Linked DNA regions of Homo sapiens: regions 2 and 3 are each linked to region 1. The links are contacts of gene promoters, found by promoter capture Hi-C in blood cells and fetal thymus (Javierre and others, 2016). All regions are on one chromosome and are shown on one strand. The core of a region is centred on a gene start or on the middle of the fragment in contact, and the rest is flanking DNA. Distances in the headings are between cores, read along the strand shown.

Region 1 (3,969 bases), core at 782-3,281:
TTAAGTTTTGGGGCTCCAAGTATTCTTTACTAAAATACATTTCAAATGCATTTATGTGCAGGGTTTTCCAGCATTTTCAGTTGTTTCATCAGGGCACCTACTTGAGCTTACTGTTAAATGACAGACACCTGAAATGTCTGAGAAGAGAAACAGGCTCAAGAACAATTTGAATAAGTTCTACAACGACAGATTCATGTTATTTAAGGCATAGTTTGGGATTGTGGTGGACTTTTTTTTTTTTTTTTTTTTTGAGACAGAGTCTTGCTCTGTCACCCAGGCTGGAGTGCAATAGCACGATCTCAGCTCACTGCAACCTCCACCTCCCAGGTTCAAGCGATTATTCTGCCTCAGCCTCCCGAGTAGCTGGGTCTACAGGCACCCGCCACCACGCCCGGCTAATTTTTGTATTTTTAGTAGAGACCGGGTTTCACCACATTGGCCAGACTAGTCTTGAACTCCTGACCTCGTGATCCGCCCTCCTCGGCCTCCTAAAGTGCTGGGATTACAGGCATGAGCCACTGCGCCTGGCCTGTGGTGGACCTTTAAGGCTTCTTCCTAACAAGGTCTACTGACGACATGTAGGTAATTGTGGAGTGACCTGGCAGGAAGAACTGTGGCAGAATCCTCTCGCCGGACTCTAACACTAACTAGATCTTGTGGAAAAGCCAAGTCTTTGACTGGCTCAGCCTAGCTTATAGGAGTCAGATGAGGTTAATATTGTAAACATTTGTGTCTTGTCTTCCCAATTCAACTGTTAACTTCCTTGAAAGCAAATACTGTGTTCTCTAAGTCTCCCAATCTCTCCGTTCTTAGTTCTTAACGCACTTTCTACAAGAATCAAATATAGCGCACCCTGCTCATGGTCAAATTTTCCCCACAGAATTTCCTTAGCCCTCCATTCTCACAAAGATCTAACATGATTCTCGAAGTGTTTCTAGACCAAGGAACACTTCATTAAAAGTCAATTCAATTCCAGCTGCCCCTTCCGTTGCAAACCCTCTGGTGTTGTTAAATTAACCACTACTTTGAAACAGTATGGGAACAGTATGAGAATGTCGGAGCTGGAAGGAAACTTAAAGCCTTGGAGATCATCTAGCAACTACTCCAACACTCTCGATTTACAGTTAAGAAAACGAAAGAGACCCAGAGAAGCGAACACAGTTGCCTAAAATCACCCAAATGGACAGCTGAAAGCTTCGTGACTCCACAAATAGGATTTTCCTCACACCAAACTCCGTATCTTGACATTCCCAGAATGGGGATGGTCGGTGGGCTGGGAGGGGGGTGTTGGGGGGGGGGTGAAGGAGAGAGTTTGGGCAGCTCTACAAACAAAATGCAGCAACTGCACTGTAGATAACATCCGTCCCCAAGGAGAAGCAGCCCAGGCTGACTTCAACCTGTGGCTGCAACCCCCAGACAGAAATCTGCAGCACTGGAAAAACCGACAACACATCGGACCGAAGAGGAGGTGGTCGCAGAGAGGCAAGTCCTGGGGTCTCCCGGGCAGCGGGAGAGCTCACTCGTAGCGACGGAGACCGTTTCCAATCTGGAAACACTCCAACCTGGGAACGGGCTCTTTTGGCACGAAAGAGAAAATGTGTGGGCAGGGTCACAAATCCACCAACCTAAAGCAAGCGTCAGAGAAGTTTCTGGGCAAGGGCGCACGGCGCCGAGGCTCCGACCCCGCTGCAGAAGGAAGCGGAGGGAAAAAAGGGCAGAGCACTGGGGTCGCGAAGAGGAGGGTCCGCGTTCACCCGCGCCAACGGCAGCCCCGGGAAACCAAGACCCCGGCGGCGTCCAAACCGCGAAGCCCCGCCCCCGGCAGGGGACTCCGCCATCCCCAACGCGCCCTCGAGCCAGCGCGCCGGTGCCTCTTTACCCGAGCAGGCGCCGACTCCGCCATGGCTCCAGTCGCCCCTCAACACCCAGACCCCGCCTCGGAGCCCCCGTGCTGCGTTCCTGTCCGCTCGGCGCCCCAGAGCCTGTTGGAAGCCGCCGCCGCCGCCGCCGTGTTGATGCCAGGTGCATTCTGGGAGCAGCGACCTCCCCGGCACAAGACCGGCTCCAGCCGCTCTTCCTCACTGTGCAGGCTTCCCATTGTGCCCCCGTGCGGCGGGAGGGAGAACGCTGCTTGGCACTCCCGGCCAGAGTGCGGGCACCAGGAGGGCTCAGTCACTCAAAAGTCAAGACCAGGTTCCGCGTTTCAGGCAAAGCCACGGGATCCTGCTGTCTTCCGTATGCCCAGCACTCTGCTAAATGCTTTGAGGGATTCAAAAATGTGTACAACTCAGACTTTTTGCTGAGGAAAGAACATGTAATGTTGTTGGGGAAAAGAAATATGGTTCCAAAAGGCAAGTGATTTTATTCCAAAAGTTCACCTGTTATTTGGCTTTTTAGAAACTGGGAACAGTTTCCATATCAACAGTGTGGAGCGTGGGGTCAGGCCCAGGCCAGCCCTCTGTAGCCTGTTAATTATGGTAATCATGTGCCTTGGAAAGTCCAAGACAACCCTGATTTCAAATATTTCCAGTCCTCATGCTACATGTAAGACGATGTGTCTGGAATTTTTGTTGGAAAGCACGGCCACATGACCATTTAATCGCCATGTACTTAATCCCCAATACCAGCAACACTACGGCAACCATAGCTGCCTAATTTATACCATTGTCTCTCTGGAGACAAGCAATGAACTTCCACTTCACAGGATAGGCGTGAAGTGTTTCCTCTGAGAACGAAACTTTTTTTTTTTGAGATGGAGTTTCGCTCTTGTTGCCCAGGCTGGAGTGCAATGGCGCAATCTCGGCTCACTGCAACCTCCACCTCCCGGGCTCAAGCGATTCTTCTGCCTCAGCCTCCCTAGTAGCTGGGATTACAGGCATGTGCCACCACGCCTGGCTAATTTTGTATTTTTAGTAGAGACGGGGTTTCCCCATGTTGGTCAGGCTGGTCTCAAACTCCCGACCTCAGGTGATCCGCCCACCTCAGCCTCCCAAAGCGCCGGGATTACAGGTGTGAGCCACCCCACCCGGCGGAGAACGAAACTTTTAAGATCATGACTGGCTCCTTCCTCACATGCAGGGCTCAGTTCAGATTCTACATCCTCAGAGAGATATCCCCAGTCCCCCCTTTCTACAGCCCCACACCATCCTCCATCTCAATACTCAATCTCGTTACCCTGCTGGAAATTTTTCATACCATTTATCACCATCTGAAGTAATCTCTCTTTTTCACTCATTTACATATTAATTATCTGTATCTCTTCCACTGAAATGTCTGTCTACTGTATCCTCCATTTGTTGTACACAGAAGTGTTCATATTTGTAAATGATTGAATGGTGAATCAGAGTGTAAGGATATGAAATGTCATCTCAAACAGAGGCATTATTTCCAGGGCAACTAGATCAACGGGCACGTCACTGAATCATTAATAAATCTAGAGAAAGAATGGGCCAGGCTGAAGAAACCGGTCAGTCAGGGAGATCCTGTCCAGAGGGTCTGACCTAATCTCTCAGACCAACAAACTCTTGGTGTCAGATACAGAAAAAAAAAAAAATGTGTCATGGGTGAGGTGGCTCATGCCTGTAATCCTAGCACTTTGGGAGGGCAAGGCAGGAGGATCACTGGAGTTTGAGACCAACCTGAGCAAATAGGCAGACCCTGTCTCTACAAAATTAAAATTAAAATTAAAATGAGCCAGGAGTAGTGGTGCACACCTGTAGTCTCAGCTACTCAAGAGGTTGAGGTGGAAGAATCATTTGAACCCAGTAGTTCAAGGCTGCAGTGAATCACGATCGCACCACTGCACTCCAGCGTAGGCAACAGACCAAGATCTTGTCTTTAAAAATAAAATAAAAATGTTATCCTCCACAGGCACAATATCAGGACATAGGATGCTGAGGTCATTAAACAGTTCGGTCGTAGAACTCATTCCCTCTATTCTATTTCTATACTCACAAGGCAACCTTCTGA
Region 2 (3,964 bases), core at 1,041-3,540, 260 kb before region 1:
ACAGTGAGCTCTTTGAGGCAAGGACTGCAGCTTTCATCTTTGTGCTGAACCCTGGGCAGTTTTTGTTGAACAAAGGACCATGCATACTTGGACAATCATAATTTCACATATTCTCTTTTATTCAAATGAATGCATAAATTGGCCCATATTTTTCTATATTTGAGGTCCAAATTGCATCTCCCAGACTATCTCTTAGCACCAATAAATGACATAAAGATCTTTTGTTATACTAAAAACCGTGAGTTTTCTGTTTAGAAAATACTGTCACCTTGATTATATACGTTTCACATATATAATCTGGCTGAGGACCCAGTAAGTACTCAGTATAGACTTGTTGACTAATTTCTACTGAGTGGGTTTTGTCCCTAGCCAAGCTCAAAAGGACTCAGTGTCCCTATAAAATATTCTTCATTTCATCTGGCTAGGCTTTGATGTGACAGGCTTCCCCCACTCTGAAAGCCATGAGAGACTATTGTGAGGTCCTCAAAAATTGACAACTCAAAGGTCAGACCTATAAAACTTCAAAATCTCTTGTAAATATGAGTCAGCACCTGAGTAATAAGCTTGTTTCTATTATAATTAATAATATTGCTGGGGTGGGCCATGTTCTGCACAGTAAGTACTCCTTGAGAAATCTAATTTTTGTACCTAGAACACTATTTTCAAAAGCTGTGGAGATTTTAGTTATGGGAGAATTCAATAACTTTAGTTATTAAAAATTTTTAATGAATCTAAAAACAAAACTCTGATGCTTGTTTCTTATGTCTGGATTTTTCCATATTTCCATATTTGGAGTTTGCTCCAAATATGGAAGGGCCTCCTATATTCTTTTACCATCCACCTCACCTCCACTGGCGCAAGGTGACCTCACTCCTGCCCTGGAGAGCTCAGGTGCAGAGACTTGCACTCTGCTGAGGGCGTCTGGAATGCCCTGTTGTTCATTCCTGTCGCTCAAAGTTCTGACCCCAGAGAAGATGCCAGGGCCCTGGGACGGGTCACTCTCTAAGCTGTTGTCAGTCATAAACACCCTAGGTGTAGGCAGGTTTTAACATCACCATATCAGAATAACTGAGGCTATGGACGCTTCTAGAAAACTTGAAAGGCAATCATGGATGCCAGGGCACTGAAACTTCCTCCACACATCTGCCACTTGCCCACCTTGCCCCTGGCTTTCTAATGCCACATCAGGATCTTACCTCCAGGTTGGCAGAGGGTGATGCCATCATGGTGGAAACTCAGCAACACCTGAGATGCCTGGAGCTATGCTTCTCAGACGGAGGCACGGACCCCCTGAAAGGGAGGTCCAGGGTGAGGAGGGATGTGGGAGTGATACAGGAGGGAGGCAGGAAAGTGCTGGGTAGAGAAAGGCAGGGTCCCTGGCAAAGGCTCTACCCTCAGGCCTGTGCCCACTGACCTAGGTGAGGACAGGTATTTCTGTTTCTGTGGCTAAATGTGGCATTTCCAAGACCACCCTGGCCTGCCACACACCCCATCCTGTGCCTTTAAACATCCTGAGACCCTAGTGGGCACGGACACGAGCAGCTGGACATCGAGAGGAACTCAACAGCAGAAGAACACACGGGCAGACACCAGCAGACGCCGGCAGGCCATCTATGACGGGACGACACGGAGTTCAGCAGAGGCCAGTCGGAGGAGGGCCCGGCCACTGGGTGGCCTGACTCCAGGGAAAGGCCACCTTCCCACTCCATCCTCCTTCTGGCCTCTCCATCCACCTCACTGAGAGCTGCCACCACTTAATAAAAAGCCTTGCACCCATCCCCCAAGCCCACGCGTGATCTAATTTTTCTGGCACACTAAGGCAAGAACCCCAGGATACAGAAAGCCCTCTGTCCTTGTGATAAGCCCCACAGCCTGCCTGCCTACATGCTCCCGCTAGAGGTTTGAGCAGCGGGGCACTGACAAAGTGAGCTGCAGCCCCCATCTCACACCCTGAGAGGCGGATGAGGGAATTGTTCCCATTTCAGGAGCAAGAGAGGGGTTTTGAAACATCAAATAAATTTTTTACTCTGGTCAATAAATCAAAATAATCTTTTAAAATTAAAACAAGCACAGAAGTTTTATAAAGGAGACAAGATTTAATGGATTGTTAAAGTATGACAATTTATCACACCTTCTGGCTCACCAAGGGCCATTTCAGGCAGCGTCCAGACCCACAGGACATACATTCACTTTTCTCTGTACTCAAGGGCTCTGGTATAGAATATTTTTGAGGCACTGGCCTCCAGCCAGCCAACCCCAGAGGACTGTGAGTCTCCCAGCTCCCAGCAGAAGGAAAGGAGGTAGCTTCTCAGAGCCATGGCCCTGACCATCCGCATCTGCAAATTTCACTGAGGGATTTGAGGCAGGAACTTGGCACTGGCTCCATGGGAGAGACTCCAGGGCCAGCTGCAAGTTCTCCAGCACTTCACCACATCTAACCGCTGCAGGGTAACGCTCAATGTGAGAGCACTCAGACAATGTAAGGGAAGTTAAGCTCGAGCAGACACCACCTGGAGCCCAAGGATGCCTGCTGCAATGCCTGGCCAACTTTCACCATGCCTTTGTATCTGTCAGGATAGGCTAGGTTAAACTGTGGAACAAGCAACCCCCAAACCATGTTACAACAAAAAGTTTCATGTTCATGCTGTAAGTAGCTCATCATGGGATGGCTGGGGAGTCTACTCAATGTCCCCCACCTCCAGGATGCAGGCAAATACAGCACCCACCTCCTCAAATATTGCTGGGTTACCATAGTAGAGGGAAAGAAAAAACATCAGCCAGAACTTGTCACATGGTCCAACCCAGCCAGAAGAAACCAGGAAGTGCCATCCAGCCATGGTCTTCAAGAGAAACCAGCTGGAAATATTTAGTGGGCAGCAATGATTACCACAGTCTTTTTGAAAACCCCAAGCCTGAACTTTTAGGCTGTGTGCCTGGTCCCAGGGGAAAAGCTCAGGCCTAAGGGAGCAGCTGGAAAAATAGAGGTCCACCTGTTCTGCTGTACCTGCTGGAGTATAGGAAGCACTCATAGGGGTGCATGGGTCCATAGTCCCTACATCTACACAGTCTATGTGCAGTATGAACCACACACTTCCTGCCTCCCTGACACCTTGAGTTGACATGTGGTCTCATGTTCTCTAGCCCTTCCAGGCTCCTTCTGGGTGTGTTGAAAATGCTTTATGATTTTTCTTCTAGGAATACTCAGCAGGAAGGTGGAGATGGTAGGGGCTGCAGAAGTATTAGAGCAGAGGAGGGGATGATTCTTTGGACCACAGTTGATCACACCACACAGAGCAATCAATTAAGACTTGTACTAAATCATTACTTTATGTTGCCTAAACCTGCCCAGTATTAGGCACTGCAGGAGAGACAAGAGAAATAAGATATAGTCCCTGCTCTCAGGGAACTTATAATCCAAGAGGTGAGTTAGGAACTACTACCTTGTATTGTAATTTTTTTCTCAGTGCCATATGAATGGCACCGAGAATAAAAATTATTAGAGTTGGGACAATGCAGAGCTTGCTGCAGCCGTGATTGGCATGGAGAGACTTAACTGGAAGAATTAGGGCATATGCTGGTCTGGAAAAGGTGTGAGAACTTCGGGTGGGCAAGAGGAGAGGGGAAAAGCATGAGGAAAGGCACAGGAGTGGAAACTCTCATGCCTGCTTTTGACACCTGTGCCCAAAATGGAGGGAAAGGCTTTGGAAGCCTCATATATCAATCCAAGGAGGTTTATCTTCGTTCTTTTTACAAATAGAGGCTGGAAAACCAGCACCAGAGATGCTCTGCAATAGATGCCTGTCTTCAGTGGAGGACAGAGCAAGTCATCATTACCCTAACTTGGCTGTCTGCAGAGCCCCAGCTTCACCCTTACCTCAACCCCTACAAGGAACTTGTTAAAAAGAGACCTTCTTTTAAAATAAGTTTTCTCCACATTACTCAGGACCCATCCCAAAGACATTTT
Region 3 (4,357 bases), core at 301-2,800, 480 kb before region 1:
GCAAGTGTGAGTGTGCAAACACCTGGGCTACAAAACTCATCTTCGGGAGGAGGAAGGCCACCACTGGCTGGCTCTGCCCACACACCACCGGCCTTCCTCCTCGGGCCCCACTTCACCTCCTTCCCCCAACCAATGGAGAAAAGCTTTCTGGGCTGACCCAGGACTCTTGTAACTGGGCAGCCTCCTAGCTCATAGCTGCACACTGGTCCTCCTAACATCACCCTTCCACCGTGTCACTAGCCCAGCACAAAAACTGCAGCTTCAGTGCCTGCTGGACCTGCCCCTCTCTCACAGTCCTTCCCAACCTAGACCTGCTCTCCCAGTGGGCCTCAGGCTCGGGCTCCCTGATCAGACCCTGCCACAGGACCTCTCAACCTGGAGGCTGTGCTCACATTGCCCTGGGCTTCTGGGAACCCTCCCTGCTCCTCTCCACCTTACAGTGACCTACCACTCCCCAAGGTCACTCCTGGCCACCTTCTCCATGAAGCTACGTAGTGTGAGGATATTCCCCTCATCAGATCTGAAAGGTCAATGGCCCAAACTCCTCACTTTACAGAACAGGAAACTGTGGTATGAGGAGGCCTTAGGATGGGGCCATGGGCATGTCTGAACCAGGGTGTCCCTAGGCTACTTAACTGTGCAGCCAGACCTGAAAAGGACACTTGACTGTCCCTGCCCAACAACATCCAATTTGCCTAGCCTCTCCCTTCTCCCCAAATGCTTGGGGGCACTAATGACGCCAAGGGCCTGGCACAGTGTTTGCTCTGCCTAGTCACACGCTGCCCCCCATCCATGGCTGCCTCGGACTGGCCAAAGCTCAGGAGCCACCACGGTTGCAGAACTGGCTCCAGGTGCCCATCCAGAAGAACGTGGAGCAGTTGCTGGTATCAGCACCAGATACCTGATACCTCACTGATATCAGCACCAGAGTTTCCCAGCATCGTCACAGCCCACACACAACCTAGCCCAAACGGTGCCCAGGCTGTCACGGCCTGGGGCTCTCCCTCCAGTTCTCAGATCTAAACGCCTTACCTGCAGGCTTCCCAAGACAAAACTTGGGGTTTGTTCTATCTTTGTTTCTCCCCATTTCCACGTCCCCAGCCCCCGGGATCCAGGATTCCACCAAGAACAGAAGTATGAGATTTACTCACTGCCTCCGAGGCCTTCATGCCCACTCTACCAGGATAACTTGTAACGAAACAAGCCACGCCAAGGGGGTTTCCCCAGGTGGAGACTGGGCCGTGGGTACCGGCGGCGGAGAGCTGGAGAGAGGTTGTCCGAGGACCTGAACTTCCCGGCACGAACCCCTGAGCATCAGGCCTGCCCAGCCTCACCCAGCCGATCCCGAAGTTGCGGGGGGGTCCCAGCTCTTTCTCGCCCTACCGCCTTCGGGGCCGCACTGCGCCGAGGGGTCCGCGCGTCCGCCTGCCTTACCTGGCGCGCCATCCCCGGGCTCAGCCTCCCCGCCACTCCTCGGTTTCCGGCGCGGGCCCTGGCGCGGGCGCACGCGACCCTCGTCGGCGGCGGCCCAGGTCCGCGCAGGAGAAGGCGGGGCCGGGGGCCTGGGCCGAGGGGGAGGGGCGGGGGTGGGCGCGCCCGGGCCCGCCCCCGGCCTCGTTGAGCCCGCCCCGAGCGCCTCGCATCCCTTGGTGGGTGGTGCCGTTTCCGCCCGGAGCCCCCGGCTTCGGCGGCCCGGCCGGCCGGCGCAGACGCGGACTACACTTCCCAGAAGGCGCCGCGGCGCCGGCTCGGAAGCGGGGGGCGGAGACAGGGCGGGGCGGACCTGGCTCGGGCCTCGTCCCCGCCCCCTCCCCTCGTCCCCGCCCCCAGCTGCGGGTAGAGGTTGCGCGCCGAGACCAGCCGGGGCGGCTGTGGGCGTGCAAGCCCGCGGGTACGCGCCGCTTATCACTCATTCATTCCCGCAGCCACCACTCAGCGCGTCCCATGTGCCAGGGGCTGATGGTGGGGATGAAGAGGGACCCATCTTTCCCAGAGGCCGCGGTCGGGGAAACCCGACCTGGAGTGAAAGGGGTCGAGGGTCCGGCCGGGCGTGGGTGGGACAGAGCAGCTGCCAGGCCCCCGTACATCCTCACGTCTTTCGCCCGCGCCCCCGCTCGCCGCAGCCATGACCTACCTTCGTGTCACATTTTGCGTGCCTGTTTGCTGGGGTGGTAACCCCAGTTGTTCCTGGCACATAGTAGGCCTCAAATAAACGTGTGATGCGGGAAGGAAGCGCGGCCCACTCTCCTCTGCCTCCCCCTGCGCTTCACGAGTTCGAAGGCCTGGTCTGGGCGGGCGCTGCGAGAGCGCTCCGGGGGTGCGGGCGAGGCGCAGCGAGCCTGGTTTTCCTGTCTGGAGAAGGACCCCGTCATTTTTATAGAAGGCTGCTGGAAGGGGGCCTGCGGGGCTAAGCCTGCTGTGCCAGACAGAAGCTTGGAGGGGAAGGGGAGGCTGTGGTCCCACGCAGAGGAGACTCTGCTCTGAGTTTGGAAGCCCCGTCCAGACCTTGCGGCCCAGACAGCGCTCTGCCTGGGCAATATCGGAGGGAAGGAAAGGGAATTCCTCGCCCAGTCGCCCGGGGCTGGCCCTTGCAGCCGCGCCGGCCATGATCACGGACTCGGGTACGATGCCGACAACCCCTCGTCCCGGCCTCCGAGGAAAGGCGCACGCCCACTCGGGCAAAGCCCCCTCGGTCATACCCGAGACACCTTAGACACAGGACCGGCGTGTGCGCAGCCTGCTGAACAAGGATTTGAAGATATCACAAGGCCCCACCTCGCGGAAAGGGAAAACTTAAAAGTCCAACTTTTCAAGAGCCCTACAGGCCACAGCCCTCAGGGTAAGTCGCCTCCTGGGCTTTAGGCCGGGTCCCACCTCCGTGCCGAGGTGAGGCGGGCTCCTTACAGTAATGTGTTCCTGCTCCCAGCTCCTCTCCACCGCCCACCCTCCGGCCCGGGATCCCTAAACGTTAAAACCCCCTAAATCAGGGGTCCCCAACCTTTTGGGCCAGAGCCCGGTTTTGTGGAAGGGAATTTTTGCATGGACTGGGAGGGGGGTTGTTTTGGGATGAAACTGTTCCAACTCAGATCACCAGGCATTAGATTCTCCTAAGGAGCCCGCAACCTGGATCCCGCATTCACAACAGGGTTCTGGCTCCTATGAGAATCCAGCACCTGCAGATCTGACAGGAGGCAGAGCTCAGGGGTAATGCGAGCAAGGGGGAGTGGCTGTAACTACAGATAAAGCTTTCCCTGGCTTGCCCGCAGCTCACCTCCTGCTGCACTGCCCAGCTCCTAACAGGCCAGGACTGGTACTGGTCCATAGCCCAGGGACTGGGGACCCCTGCCTTAAACTTAAACACCTGTAGAAAGAAATCTCTATCCAAGTAAGATGCACCTTTGTTTTAAGCTGTGCAGATTCTTGGCACCTCTTTGACTCAAACGTCCACTTCCTGGCTAGGCTTCCTGCCCCATTTGTGGACCATCAGTCGCTAAAAGCAGTTCACCAACATGAAATTTGCTGCATGGCCAATTATTTAAATTATGGAGACACTTCCTGGCACCCCTATCCCCCAAATTTTAGTTGCGCCTTTGACCCTGTAGACCTGTATTTACCTCAGCCCGTGTGTGTGCGTTAAAAAATAGTTGTGAAGACCTGTCCTGAACCAGGTTTATTGGATGGCTCTGGACACAGACAAAGGCAGGAGTGGAGCTGAAACACATCTTTAAAAATTCCTTGGCTGGGGCCAGGCACGGTGGCTCACACCTGTAATCCCAGCACTTTGGGAGGCCAAGGCTGGTGAATTGCTTGGGCCTGGGAGTTCCAAACCAGCCTAGGCAACATGATGAAACCCCATCTCTACAAAAAATGCAAAAATTAGCCAGGTGCAGTGGTGTACCCCTGTAGTCCCAGCTGCTTGGAAGGCTGAGGTGGGAGAATCTCTTGAGCCCAGGAGGCAGAGGGGGGTTGCAGTGAGCCAAGATCACACCACAGCACTCCAGCCTGGGTGACAGAGCAAGACCCTGTCTCAAAAAAAAAAAAAAAAAATTTCAATAATTCAGATTGGTTGTTTAGCAAGTTGATATTCAGTGGTTTAGCTTTTACCATATTTGGCTTTTGGCTATCTGGTCATTCTGTGAATTGACTTTTGGTGAACTAGTCGGCACTTTTCCCAAATGAATCTAAAGGCAAATTGTGCTGGCCAGTCCTCCATGTGAAAATGGCTGCAACTTTAAAATATTTTCTGATTTTCATTATTATTTCTTTTTCCATCCATGAGATTATTTAAAAGTACTTTTTAATTTCCAAATACGAATCTTTTTATGAGTTATTTTGTTTTTGAGTTTTGCCTTATAGT

What was found. The method cuts DNA at HindIII sites, captures the fragments that hold promoters and counts their contacts. A CHiCAGO score of 5 or more calls a contact.
Region 2: a contact is called between a fragment that was not itself captured here and the fragment with the promoter of ZNF212 in region 1, in 3 of 17 cell types (total CD4 T cells, total CD8 T cells and neutrophils). The highest score is 6.4, in total CD4 T cells.
Region 3: the fragment with the promoter of KRABD3 here is called in contact with the fragment with the promoter of ZNF212 in region 1 in 1 of 17 cell types (naive B cells); the score reaches 6.3 in naive B cells.

The regions. Positions count from the first base shown.
Region 1 is chr7:149,237,713-149,241,681 of GRCh38, reverse strand. It overlaps ZNF212 (zinc finger protein 212), which reads right to left and starts at 2,031. Exons shown (of 5, transcript NM_012256.4): 1 at 1,880-2,031. The coding sequence starts at 1,903. RefSeq lists an enhancer at 1,970-2,264. The HindIII fragment of the contact is 6,599 bases long and covers 1,197-3,969 here.
Region 2 is chr7:149,499,529-149,503,492 of GRCh38, reverse strand. No RefSeq gene overlaps it. Among named protein-coding and RNA genes, the nearest start is that of ZNF746, 3.7 kb to the right of the region's middle. The HindIII fragment of the contact is 3,449 bases long and covers 566-3,964 here.
Region 3 is chr7:149,712,144-149,716,500 of GRCh38, reverse strand. It overlaps KRABD3 (KRAB domain containing 3), which reads right to left and starts at 1,550. Exons shown (of 17, transcript NM_001290187.2): 1 at 1,435-1,550. The coding sequence starts at 1,446. RefSeq lists enhancers at 628-1,260, 1,898-2,397 and silencers at 1,463-1,902, 2,729-3,023. The HindIII fragment of the contact is 2,289 bases long and covers 146-2,434 here.